Linked DNA regions of Homo sapiens: region 1 is linked to region 2. Evidence: promoter capture Hi-C in human tissues and cell types (Jung and others, 2019). All regions are on one chromosome and are shown on one strand. Each heading gives the region's core, a stretch centred on a gene start or on the middle of the fragment in contact. The rest is flanking DNA. Distances are from core to core; before and after follow the strand shown. Region 1 overlaps SHROOM4 (shroom family member 4). Region 2 holds the start of SHROOM4 (shroom family member 4).

The links. Contacts are between HindIII fragments. The study calls those that stand out against the background at their distance.
Region 1: a fragment that was not itself captured here is called in contact with the fragment with the promoter of SHROOM4 in region 2 in 1 of the 25 tissues and cell types used here (hippocampus).

What each region holds. Positions count from the first base shown.
Region 1 is chrX:50,766,706-50,773,675 of GRCh38, reverse strand. All of the region lies in intron 1 of SHROOM4 (shroom family member 4), which reads left to right. Among named protein-coding and RNA genes, the nearest start is that of SHROOM4, 44 kb to the left of the region's middle. The HindIII fragment of the contact is 4,213 bases long and covers 250-4,462 here.
Region 2 is chrX:50,809,227-50,815,692 of GRCh38, reverse strand. SHROOM4 (shroom family member 4) reads left to right here and starts at 1,499. Exons shown (of 9, transcript NM_020717.5): 1 at 1,499-1,791. The coding sequence starts at 1,675. RefSeq lists an enhancer at 1,951-2,452. The HindIII fragment of the contact is 10,300 bases long and covers 1-5,400 here.

The DNA of each region.
Region 1 (6,970 bases), core at 1,107-3,606, 43 kb after region 2:
AGTATATTAAGGCATCATTTATAATTTACTGGTCATATGCTATTTATAGCATCATTATTATCTCATGTATTCTCTAAGTCATGTACTAAAATTAGCACATAAGACAAAAATCATGAATCGTTGAAACTCTTCCTGGAAATCTTTTGTATTGCAGTACAGTACTGTATCTGTTGTGCATAGAAGTCTATACAGTAATTCTCTAAGTTTGTTAACCTGTGAGCTGAACTAGAGAAATGAACAAATGGGAAGTATTTATGTAGGTGTCTGAATATTCAAACCATTCTAGCTCTAAGATGACCTCATGGTGAATAAGGGAACAGTGGAGAATTCTAGATGCTTTGTTTGTTGATTTGTTTCATTTTGATTTCATATTAGGTAGGCCTCAACCTTAAGCCATGTTAATAGGTTTGTGGTCGTGAAAACTTACATTGTATGTAAAGCACTTAGCCTGGTTTCTGTCACTACCAGTGAGGATTTAATAAAATGTTAGTTGTTATTTTTCGTAATGGTAGTATGAATAGTAGTAATAGTAGTACTCATAAGATATGTGACAGCACCTAACACAGAGCCTGGTACATAGTCATTGCTCAATAATGTTTGCTAGATTTGGTTAATTGGATCTATATGTTTACTTTCCATATTCTTTGTAAGTGTAGTAAAGAAGAATTTGGCAACCTGTTTTCTGTCTTCCCAAGTTTCCTGCTGTGGCCCCTTGGTCATTGGTCACATTTCAACTTGGAGTTTGTTCTCAAGTAAGCCTCTCAGGTGAATGGGCCTGTGATGCACTAAGGATCAGATTGCACATTATCTGAAGGCAGGGAGTCTGCCTTATTCATCTTTGTATGCCCACAGTTCCTAGCATATGATAGGTATTCAATGAAGGAATGGATGGATGGATGGAGGAAGAAAACGTTTGAATCAAACAAAGACTGTCTTTGCATTTGTGAGATTTAAGGGATGAAGGTTCAATTTGAGCTATTGCTGATTTTGGTCACCTGGGTTTTGGCATCAGGCTCTAATAGTGCTGCTTCCTTGAAACCTTGCTCTGAGCTAGAAACAGTTATGCTCTTAATGGGGTCTTTCTGGCGTAAGTAATCAAAAGTATAATAACTGGCTTTGATACATTGTTTTGAGCACTTCAAGGGAGAAAGGGCCCTAGAAGAGGAAGGTGGTAGAGCATCAAATAAGAGAATGAGATTTGGAGTCAACAGAAACCTCAGTTTACATCCTAGTTTTGTCACTTTCTAGCTGTGTGTCCTTGGGAAGTCCCTTAAACTCTCTAAGCTTCAGTGTTTTCTCATCTCTAATATGGGGACAGTATTACATACCTCATAAGTACTGTTATGAGATCAAAATATAAGTGTACTTAAAACCAAGGTACATAGTAACTGCTCAGTAAATGTTAGCTACTATTATTGTTGTTACCACATGTTTTCTCTCCTTTCCAAAATGACCGTAGCTTTATTGTTTTCCACATCATCAAAAGCAATAATGTTTGTTGATTTAATATTAACTTAGAAAATACACAGAAGTTTAAAGAAGAAAATTAAAATTAGCCACATTCCTACCTCCTAGAGGTAACAGGCATTGATATTTAGGTGTATGCATATCTCACACTTCATTCTTCCATGTTTATACACACACACACACACACACACACACACACATAAAAAACAAGGTCATATTATATGTAATGTTTTCTAGCCTATGTTTTTACAACTAACAATACGTTGCAGAAATCTTTTCAGATCTACAGAATCACTTTAATGGTATCACTGTATTACACTTTATGACTATATAAATACTACAGGTATTTTCACCAGTACCATATTAATTGACATTTAATTTGCTCCTAACATTTTGCTAATATAAACAGTGCAACAGTGGCCATTTGTGTACGTACACCTTTGCACACTTATCTGATTATTTTACTAAGAGATATTTATAGAAAAAGCAGAATTGTTAGGTCAAAGGGAATTAGTCACACCACATAATGGATTAATCTTTATTAAATGGCATAATGAATGGGAGGATGCTGTGTAAACTGTCAAGTGCTATGTAAGTATGAGTTATTGCATTGCAACTGTTATTGCAGGAGGCGTGGCAGACCAATGACCTTATGGGCTAGAAGAAGGCAGAAGGCTTAATTTCTCCCAGATTTCCATGAATACACCTAGATGAACAGATACACACAAATGGATGGTTACTGTTTATTCTAATGGATCTACATTTCCACTCCCTCTCCCAAACTGCCAAAATGAAGAAAGGTTCTTGCAATCTTGAAATTAAACAATTGTTTTTAAACATGGCTGCTTCCAGCCAAATGTTCAGATCTGTTTTTTGCCAACCACACAGTTTAGGAAAGCACTCGAATAGAGAAGCACAAGGTCTCCCAAGCTGCTTCTGCCTGAGTTGTTCTGCTGCGCTCTAGAGAACCAAGACTGAAGGCCTGGCTACTTTCTTTGTGTGTGAAGGGAGGGTGGGGAAGGCAGATTTGGGGAGAAATACCTTTTTACTAAGACAGGGGTGGTTGGTCAGTTCCAGCTTAAAGATACCTTGGTCACACCTTCAGTGGAGGCATTCAGCTTTCTAGTGAGCCTGACATTCCACAGAGTTCAGGCCAGTCTAGAGAGCCTAACTGACCTACCCACTCCTCTGGCTTCCTGTTTTTCTAGCAGCCAGAGTGCCTCTTGAGCGTAACTTTATTGTAAGCATTGTTGAGTAGGGGGAAGTGTGTGTTGAGAAGTCTTGAATCTGGATCTCCTCATCTAACAGCCTGCATTCTCTCTGACTTCAAAGGCTGGGCATTCATCCAAGAATGATGCTCTTGGCCTCTGCTAGAAGGTGGGGCCAGGTGTGGGAATGCAAACAGACTGGGGGCCTGTATGAGGGTGGAAGGCAGCAGGAGACTATGTGACCATGGAGAGGAGCAGACGCCTGGTACTTGGCCAGGCTCCACCTTACAAAGGGTGCTCCTTGCAGGAATGTTTTCAATGATGTCTGTCAGGGAGCTAGGGCTATTTGAACCTCTAAGTCTGAATTGGGTGATGTTTGCCATAAGCAGTAATAAGCATGGAAATAATTTACTCTGGGACCTTGACTGCATTAGTATGAAATCACTGGCATACTGATGGGGCCTATTGATCCTCAAACTGTTTCCTGAATTCTCTCTGCAAATCCATTCTTTCCTGTCCCAGCAAACCAGTTGTCACTGCTGACTGTGTATGTATGCTGCTGCCTTGAAACACAGTATGTTGGACTTATTCATTCACCTTTCTATCCAGGTCTTCAGCTCACTGAGCTGTGAAATTTCCCCCTCCCAATCTGTTTACTTTTCTTCTGACTTTGTTTGTAAGCAAACCTGTGTACATACCTTTTCATGTGTTTACATGTATTTCTTGGAATGCATGCTGGCTCCCCGAGGCTATTTGTAAGTCTGTGGCTCTTTTATATAAAGGGATGTATCTCCTCTGAGTGTACCTAGTCAGGCACTTCAATTGAGTGCAGTGGGGGTAGTCCTTGGGGCAGGGGAGTTGCTGTGCTGGAAGAGTGATTGACCCTTCTCTTGGACAGGAAGGCTTTGGTAAGACCTTAATTGAATTATGACTCTGGAGAACAGGGAAGCTTATCCACCATCATTGGGAAAAAGATGGAAGCTTACACTGACTCTGGAAGTAAACATCTTCTTTTTATTCCCCCCGAGAACATGTGGAATGAACTCAGATGACTAATGCAGTGTCTAGATTCAAAAGGGCCCTTCTGTTCAGGAAAGTCCAGGGCTTGAGATATGCAAGTGGGCTTAAGCAGAGGTTTTGAATGGTTCTTATGTTCCCCACCCTAACCCTAGACTCTAAGCCCTTCAAGAGTACGTTGTTATTTTTGCATTTCCTCACTGGGCCTTGTACAACACAGACACTTAATAATTGGTGAGTGGATTATTAAGGCAGAAGGGTAGACTGGTTGGCCTACTGAGACTATTGATGGCCCTACAGACTCCCACAGAACTCCACAGGAAGGAAGGCTTAAGCCCAGGAGGTCTTGTTTCCAGAGCAGGCCTTAGACAAAGGTCCCGCCCAACCCTACTCATGAAGTAATTGGCAGAATGGCTAGAACAAGTGAATGATTGTGCCATAATTAGTTTATGACCTGAGGGCATGCCAGTTTGTAGCCCTGCCAGTCTGCTAGCTGCCACCAGCACAGATATGCCTCATAAAAGCTCAAGCAACAAAGCTGTGGTCCTATTGGGCCTGCGACGCCTAATGATTCAGGCCTATGAACTGAGAGAAACTGAGCCAGTGTGTTAACATTTCCTGAACTGACCTTTTCTATTTTCATTTTATGCAAAAGTAACCTTTATATTTATTACAGCTGTTAATTCTTGCTTTAATTGTAATGCTTTTCTTTTTCCCTTTCTTTCCTTTTTTTCCTTCTTTCCTTCCTCCCTCCCTCCTTCCCCTTTCTTCCCTCCCTCCCTTTCTTCACTCCTTCATTCCCTTCCTCCTCTCCCCTTCCTTTCCTCTTTTTTTCCCCTCCTTCCTTTCCTCTTTGTTTTGGAGCTGGGAGAATAGTTAGAATAGGGCAAGAGGGAGCATCTGGCCCATTGTGTGACAATAATTGAAATCATTTCCTTCGGATCTGCTCAGGAAATGGCTCAGCCAACATCTCCTTCAAGTCTCACCCTCCTGGCCTGCTGCTGGCATGATTGTTTTCCAAATATTCTCTTCTAGTTTCCTGAGAGTTCAAGAAACCCAACCTTGGTAATGAGAAATCTATCAACCTGCCAACCTAATTCCTATAAATGTATACAAGACTGTTGATGCCAGACCTCAGCAGATCTGGATTCTGAAACTAGGTTTTGCTTCTGAGGTTCCATGAGTTCCTCTTTCCTTTCCTGCCTATCAACCTGCATTATATTTTTACTTTAGATGCTCAGCATATGTAATCTTTGGACCCATTAAAGTTGAATTAATAATGTATACACTATTTGTTGCTGACAAAAGCACTAAGCAGCTCACGTTCATAGGTGGGGGAAAAGATTTACAGATTCCTGAATACAGGTTTTACATATAAGAAATAAAGCAATTTACAGAATGACCAAACTCGAAGGATGGCTCCCATTTAGTGATTTCTTTCAGAACTATAAGGATTATTGTTTCCAACATCATACAAGCAGACTTAACGCCCTTAGCCCCATCCAGGGAATAGACCTAAGGTGGGAAATTCTTCACTTTTTATATCTTCTTCTCATCACAGCCAAGTTTTCAAAGCTTAAATTTCTTCTGAGTGTTTTGTTTTGTTGGTTGTGTGGCTCAAAATGAAGGTATCCTTCTCTTTTAACATTGCCAGCAATCGCTTTACCCACCCAGAATGTTCTTATTTCTATTTATTTTGAAATGCTTTTAATGTGTCCACTGACTTCTTTGGTAGGAATGGTATCCAAGTCTTTCACAAAAAGGCTCTAATATGTTTATATTAGCCTCTATATCTGGGGACTACTTTGATTTCATTTTTGAAGGCTAATCATGTATGGCCTTAAGTAAAACCTCCAACTTAGAACCAACATTTTGTTTTTAAAAAGTAAGTTTGAGATTGAGTCCTTGATGAGAATTATGACTGTGTAATTTTCACATATTTGTGAGATTCAAGCACATTATTATTATGAAGCAGTAATAAGCTGTAATGAACCAAAAAGACCTCAGTTTTAAGAAATGTATTTTAGTTGACAGTAGGCATATTACCATGACTCTAATAGATGTATTTGTTATTACTTGTCCCCAGATTTCTTTTTAATCACAACATGGCCAATTCTATTCACAGAACTTATAATTTATAAAGTTTAAGGCTATCTTTCTTGATCAAAGGTGTTTCCATGTTTCCATATGAAAATATTTCTATTATGGACTAGAGGAGTTTTGCTCAATACATAGCGTTCATGAAAGGCAAACAGTTTTACTAAGAGCCTGTAATTAAAGCAAAACCATTTTTTTTAGCAATACCCCACTTATCCTGAAGCTCAGAGAACAGCCTGGACTCTGGTAATAAGTTTAAAAAGAAAAAAGAAGCCTTTGAGATTTTTCAAACAGCTGCCAGAAAGCCCATGGTGCAGGAGAAGAGGCCCTCATGTCTTGACCTCAGAGAGACCCACTGGTCCTTAATTTAATGGGAGCCTGATATTTCCTCAGTTACAGCAGCAAATTAGAATTTGGGGCGGCAGGATGGGTGGGTTTGAGGAGGTAGTTTACTCTAGAAATAGACACAGTGACAGCTAAGTAACAGACACCCAGGATGGAGAAATCATAAAAGCAAAGACCTGGCAATGTGGAATAGGCAGATACCCTTACACATGAAAATATAAGATTGTGTGGTATTGACATGCCAGATTTTGCTTAGCCATTCTATTATTGGAGATTTAAGTTATTTTAAAATTTTTACTCTTATAAAAAGTGATGCTGTGAATGGTTCTGCACAAATTGCATTTCTTCTGTTTAGAGTTATTGCTTTCTGGTATCTTACCAAATGTGTAATAACGAGGCCAAAAGGTATGAGCTGTTTTATAGCTGCTGTTACATGTTGCCAGATTGTACTCCCAAAAGATTAAACTGCATAAGTGTGCCTGTTTTCACAGATCCCTGCAGCACTGAATGTTATCATTTTTAACCTTTTTGCTAGTTTAGTAGGTATATAAGTATACTATCCATTTGTTTTAATTTTATTTAATGAGGCTTTTCATTTTTTAGTGTCATAATTTGCTGTTTCCTCGTTCATCTTCTTTCACCACTTCTCAAGTAAAATCTGGGTAATGACCTTATATATTTTTATCCATTCTCTATATTTTGGATAGTCAGCTTCATCATTTATATTTGTCACATATTTTTCCAATTTTATTGCTTTCATTTTTATGTATGCTTTATCATATTTCACTATGCAAAACTATTCCTTTTTACATTTATATATTCAAATCCATCCATCC
Region 2 (6,466 bases), core at 250-2,749:
ACGGTGTTTGTAGGCCTAAAAGATCGAGGATGGTTTCCCATGTGCATCATCTCTAAGGACTTTAAAAAGGCAGGCTATAAACACCTAAATTGCCATTTTATTAAAGAAAAGTCAGGGCAGCATCATATATGCAGACAGTCCAGGGGGGTGCTAAGAAAAAAGGATTGATGGAGGGGGGTGACTTTGAGAGACATTTCAGTGGCCTGCTGCAGCACACCGCAGGCTGCTGTGCGTTGAAGAGGCAGTGACAGGTGAGGAAGTAGAAGTAGAGAGTGGAAACCTTGACCGCAGAAAGCTGGCTGTGAAGGAAGGGGCCGCAGTGTGTTTGTTGGCCATGAAGAAGAAGCTGCACAAGAACAGGGGAAGAAACTGAACAGGCGAGACAGAGTGGGAACATCCTGTTGAGTCACAACTGAGTTGTCAACACTTTCTCCGCTAGTGCGAGGCCCTTTAAAAATTCACTGCCCGCATGTGGCTCCAGAGAAAACACCTCAAAGAGAGAAGATAACCTGTCCAAGTGAAGGCAGAGAAATCAGCACAAGATTCAGTAACAAATTCGCTTTTCAGGACTATTATTGTGGCTGTTTGGTCTATTACAAAAGCCCAGCTCAGAAACTACAAGGTCAAGCTTGAACAGATGTGCAGAGATGTTCTGGACCCAGTCTAAAAGCTGATTCTTCCCAAAGGCACAACATTATTAATTGGCCAGCTTATCAATGGATGCTCTTTCCTGTAGGTTTGTTTAGAGACAATACTGCTAGTCATAAAGTTTGCTGATTGCTGGCTTGCTCATCTCGGTGGGGCAAGTGCAAGGCCGTGCCAGGAACTCCAGATGACTGGAACATACACAAGCACAGTGCTAGCCATAGACACCAACACTGAGCCAGGGTGCGGGGGAGCCCGAGCAGGGGGCATCCTCAAAGTGCTTCTTTATTTAAACTATGCTCTGGGGCAATGTTTCATAATGACCCCACACACCTAGCGCGTACACACAGAGCAGTCTACACACACAGCCTCACTATGTCCGCTGGCCTGCTGGCTTTGCTTTCCACCCCTCTAGGCAAGGTCCACAAATTAGCAGCCTTTTAACCCTCCCAGGTCTCCGTTCTCGGGACCTTCAGAAGAAAAAGGCAGTCAGAGAAACATGAACGCGCTAATCAGGAAACCAGCGTTTCAGCCCACTCAGCCACGCGGGCCGTCCACACTAACGACTTTCACCTCCCCTCGCCTGGGCTGGCTGGAGGGGCGGGGAACCCGGCAGTAAAGAGGAGGACCAAAGAGGGGCCCTGCTTGAATGAAACAATGTAACAATTGATGTGAGGCCTCGCCTCGCTCCCACTCCCCAGCGATCCTATAGGCGAGGTCCCAGTGACTGCCCCTCCCCATTGCTCCGTTTTCTTGTCCATTACGCGCTATCCCTCCGCCTCTCCTTCTTTCTTTTCTTTTCTTTTTTTCCCTTCTCCTTTTCCCCCCTCTCTCCCCCTTTCTCCAGCTCCGTGTCATTTCCTCCTTGCGCTCGCTCGCTGCCTGAGCGTCTCCAGCCGGGAGAGTAGGCGGAGCAGGGCGGTGCGGGGTGGCGTAGAGCTGGAGGGCGATGGTGGCGGAGCTGCTGGGGGCGGAGGCAACGTAGCCCCCTCGGAAAAGGAGCCCGGCGGCGCCTGAGCCCAGCCGAGGATGGAGAACCGGCCTGGGTCCTTCCAGTACGTCCCTGTGCAGCTGCAAGGGGGGGCACCCTGGGGCTTCACCCTTAAGGGGGGTCTGGAACACTGTGAGCCGCTCACAGTGTCTAAGGTAAGAACTGGCGGCTGATGTCCTAACGGCGCCTAACTTTGAATGGACAAGCGGGTGCGAAGGCTGCCGCTGGACGGGGCCCTCAGGCCAACTTTGAAACTTAGGGCTGGGAGCGAAAGACCCTCTGAGCGGCACGGAGGGGTCTTGCCACCAGTCCAGGTGCAGACATCCCCTAAGGGTGGCTGGAACACGAGCTGGGAGCACAACTGGCCCCCGGCTAGAACCTTGCGCGCAGACACACTCGCGAGGGCGCTGGGGCAGCCCTTGCTGCCCCACGTCGGGGCGGCTACTTCCCTCAGTTTGGGCCGAAGGAAGTGGAGGCTGTTGGGGATTTCTCCTTGGAGGCCTCTGCGTCCCTGCGGGACAGTGAAGGACTGAAGGGACAGTCATCGCGGCTTGGCAGCTCTCTTGGCAGCGTTGTCCCCTCTATCGACCGGCGGGCCGTCCCTCCCAGGCAGGTTGCAGGGCTAGGGGCTGGTGTGGGAACGGAGATGAGGCCATTGGTGGCTTTTGCCAGCCACACTTCCCACGGCCGGACGCGCACACATCCATTCAGCTCTTGGGGCGTTGTTGCCGCCGGTTCGGCTCGGCCTCTCCCTCCCTCCAGAGTCCTGCCCCAGCGCCGGCGAGATTTCCTGCACGTTGAGAAGTGTGGAGGAAACTTGCGCCATGGAGCGCAGCTGTGCTGGAGCTACTGCTGTTGCTGCTGCCGCTGCCGCCGCCGCCGCCGCCGCCGCCGCCACTGCCGCCGCCGCCGCCGCCGCCAGGGTTTGTTTGTTTTAGGAGTCTGTGATCTGCTGGAAGCCAAGTTGCAGCTGAGGACAGGAGAGAGGAGCTCTCCTGAGTGCTCCAGAACCCCCAAAGCGAGCCTCCCCCGTAGGGGTGAGGGCGAGGGGTAGGGGCAGCTGGAGCTGTTACCAGGAAGAGTGACTTGTGGGACGACTCACCTTGAGGTGCCAGATTGCCAAGTGAACGGACTTTACGAACTTTATTCCACTTTTTTGTTGTTTCTCTTAAATCCTCAAATCCGAAAAGCCCTCCCGCTTCCAACCCGCTTAAATGGCAGTTGAAGTTGTAGATGTGGGTTCAGGCTGGAGATAGAAAGATGTGTCTTTTCAGCAGGGAGCAAATATCACTTTTTTTTTGCGGGGGGGTGGGGTTCAACATTGGTCACATCTCAGCAGAGGGTTCAGCAAACGTCCACCGCAACACACACCCACAATAACCTGTGCGGCATTCGCCTTGCATTGGAGCCTGTGGTTGACTTCCAGTGTATGGGATCCTTCAGGCCTTGGGGCCCACACTCTTAGCAACCCTGGAGTGTTGCCATGGGTGTACCAATCAGATTGAGGAGTCTGAGGTATGCTGAGGCAACATTTTGAGGGGCTGGCAGGGACCCCTCTGATCATTAGCCTCCCCAAACTAGCCCAGATCTTCATCCAGCACCCTTTCCCCCATACTTGTCATGTACTTTAACCAGCCTGAGATGCGTTTGTCATCCACTGTCACAACCCCTCCTGAGGCAGTCTCCCTCCAGTGTTCTCTGGAGAAAGTTATATGCTTTTTTTTTTTTTTTTTTTTTTTAACAAAAACACTCAACTCCTTTGGTGAGGGGAATCCTGGCCTTCAGGAATTTCTTCTAATCAAGCTCCTCCTCTCCCCACTCTTTCCACCAAGGTCACAATGGGATATGCAGCCCTCCATGATCTGGCAGTTCCTCCCTTTCTTTTTCTCCTCACACCGCCCACAGAATTTCCACAGTCTGCCTAGACAACCTGCCTTGGAGAGGTCATTTTTCAGCTCTGCCCAGAGCTGACCCATCTTGAGAAGCACCCCAGAGAGTGCTTGCTGCTGTGGTCCCGGATTATTTTGTGAGCCAGTGAGAGCATGGCAGGGGGTGTTACTAAGTATGGGGCAGCCAGCAATTTGTGGTCTGGCTGGGGGATTATTTGAGAGGGTAGATGAGGGTTTCCTTGGCCAAGCTGTAGAGGAAGTGCTTCGTGTGTTGAGAGGCAGGGTGCCTTTTAATGATTCCCTTTCCACTGAATGTACAGTTGACCCCTATTATATGAAGGCTCATTATGACATGCATTTAGATATGCAAGGGATAAAATTATTTCTCCCATTCCTCCCAAATAGCCTAGTTCTTAACAGTAAAAGTCAGTTATAACTGGGTTGGCTTCAACGGTATATAAAGGGACCATAGTATTTTTTTAAGCACAATGATTGCCTGTATTGTGTTTTTCTTGACAAGACACTGTTTTGGCATATTTCATTAATTCCCTCTTCATTTTTCAACCTTGATTTTATTTCCTTTTATGATTCAGAACAATACAGCTTTCTCCTTGAAAACAGCCTTCTTAGTCTGTACACACTGGTTGGGATGGGTGGAAGGTAATAGAAAGATAATTGGGTTGGCAGATTAAAAACTTGGGTTCTAATCCTTTTTCTGCCACTCTCTAGTTCTGGAATCCTAGGTATATCACTTGCCCTACCTGGGTCTAGGCATCCCCATATCTAAAATGACATTCAAGTGGGTGGTCTTTAAATGATACTATGACAATCTAGTAGCCATGTTTTTGTTTGTTTGTTTTTGAGACAGGGTCTCACTCTGTTGCTCAGGCTGGAGTACAGTGGTGCCAGCTCGGCTCACTGCATCCTGTGCCTCCCAGGCTCAAGCAACCCTCCCACCTCAGCCTCCCAAGTAGCTGGGACTACAGGCACACGCTACCATGCTTGGCTGATTTTTTGTATTTTTGTATTTTTGTATTTCACCATGTTGCCCAAACTGGTCTCCAACTCCTTCAAACAATCTGCCTGCCTCAGCCTCCCAAAGTGCTGGGATTACAGGCGTGAGCCACCACTCCTGGCCAAATAGCTAATCTTTTATGCTAGCTCTGGCTCTCTTCTCAGAAGTGTTGCTGCAGAGTGAGGAAAATGAAGCTTTGCTTCATTTGCATACAGTGTTACTATTTACAATGTGCTTCCTCATCCTTTATTTCATTACTCTCTTGCAGCTACACTGTGAGGCAGTCAGGAAAGATTGTGGAGAAACTGATGGAAAACCCGAGACTGATGTATTCAGTGGCTTACCTATGTCTATCATACTGAGAGTCAATGGCAGTCCTACTAAGAGAGTTTCTGATTCTTCTGTTAGTACTGTGGTTTGTGAAGGAGCACAGGGCAATAACTTTCAGGGATGTATCTAGTCTTATTAGCCTCCTAATGCAGTGTCCCTTTCCATGCCAGCCTGTAATTCCATACTTGGTGACGGACTGGGTTGTAGGTACACTCTGATGGAGTCTGGGCTCAGAGTAGGAAAGGACTATTTTGATGACCCCAAATCACTTGTGATGATCTCAGGTCAGGGAGAGACAGAGGTAAGGTGCAGGAAGCATGGTGGAAAATGGCAGAGAACCTCCTTTGTGGAAAAAAAACCAGAAGCGGTTTGCATCAGGGATGGTGTGGCATACATGCTCAGAGATATCTTGTGGCACAAGTGGAGATATCTGGGGAGTGGGGGAATTTGAAAAAGTAGTGATTAGTGGGGGAAGAGGGTATGCAGTGTGAAAGTCTAGTTCATAGTTGTCATGGGAGACCCTTTGGACCAGGAAATGATCAAGTTGGGGAAATCATCAATTCCTGCTGGTTCCTATGATTTCCCTGAATATGGGGAATTCAACTGCCTGATTTATGGACACTTGTATAGTACCCCCCGACAGTCAAGTGGCAAAGAAAGAGAAAATTTTTTAATACTATTGCTGGATGCGGTGTCTTGCACCTGTAGTCCCAGCTACTCAGGAGGCTTAGGTAAGAGGAATCCCTAGAGCCCAGGAATTCCAGGCTGCAGTGTACCATGATTGGGCAACATAGTGTGACCCCACCTCCAAAAAATAAAATACGATTGATTATCCTAAATAATAAGGGATAGTTTATGATGTTTCCCTATATTGTGGTGTTTCGAGTGAGATCATGGTAACAAGTAAAAGATACATGACCCATAAAGGAATAGGGCCCATGACATTGGCATTATTGATTCCTTTGGTTAACATGTTACGCTACCTCATTGACTCAGAAGTACTGTCTGGATGGAATGGGGATTCTCTTCTAATCAGATGTGTCTGATGATATGTAGGCTCATGCTAACATATTTTCCCTTTTCTTGGCTCGTTTATGGTAGATGTTTCTATCTGGCATAGTGAAGCAAGTGGGGCTAGTTACTGCCCTGGAACAAAACAGAGTGGGGTAGGGGAGTAACCTGGAGGAGAAAGAAGCTTTACTCCCATCCACTTGATGTGCTCTGATATTGCTATATAATTTTACACTCTCCAGACCCAAGTCTCTATTTGCAGAGTGGGGCCTAGGCATAACTGCCCCATCTCTATTATCACAGATGATGAGACAATGAATTAGGCAAACTCTAATAGTGTTTGCCATCCTTAGCCTAGGACAGTGGCAGGGCATGCTCATCAAGTTGTTTTAGTCTGTATTCCATTCCTAGTCTGACCTTATTTCTAGAAGCACACAGAGAGGCAGTTGAGACTTCAAGAGGATCTGGATAAACTCAGATAGAGGTTGTCTTGTGGCTGGAAGTAAATTTGGCTGTGATTTTGAATTCTTATTGGGTGCAGAGGTGGTATTATGTGAACAATGAGAGTTCCTGTGAAATCTTTTG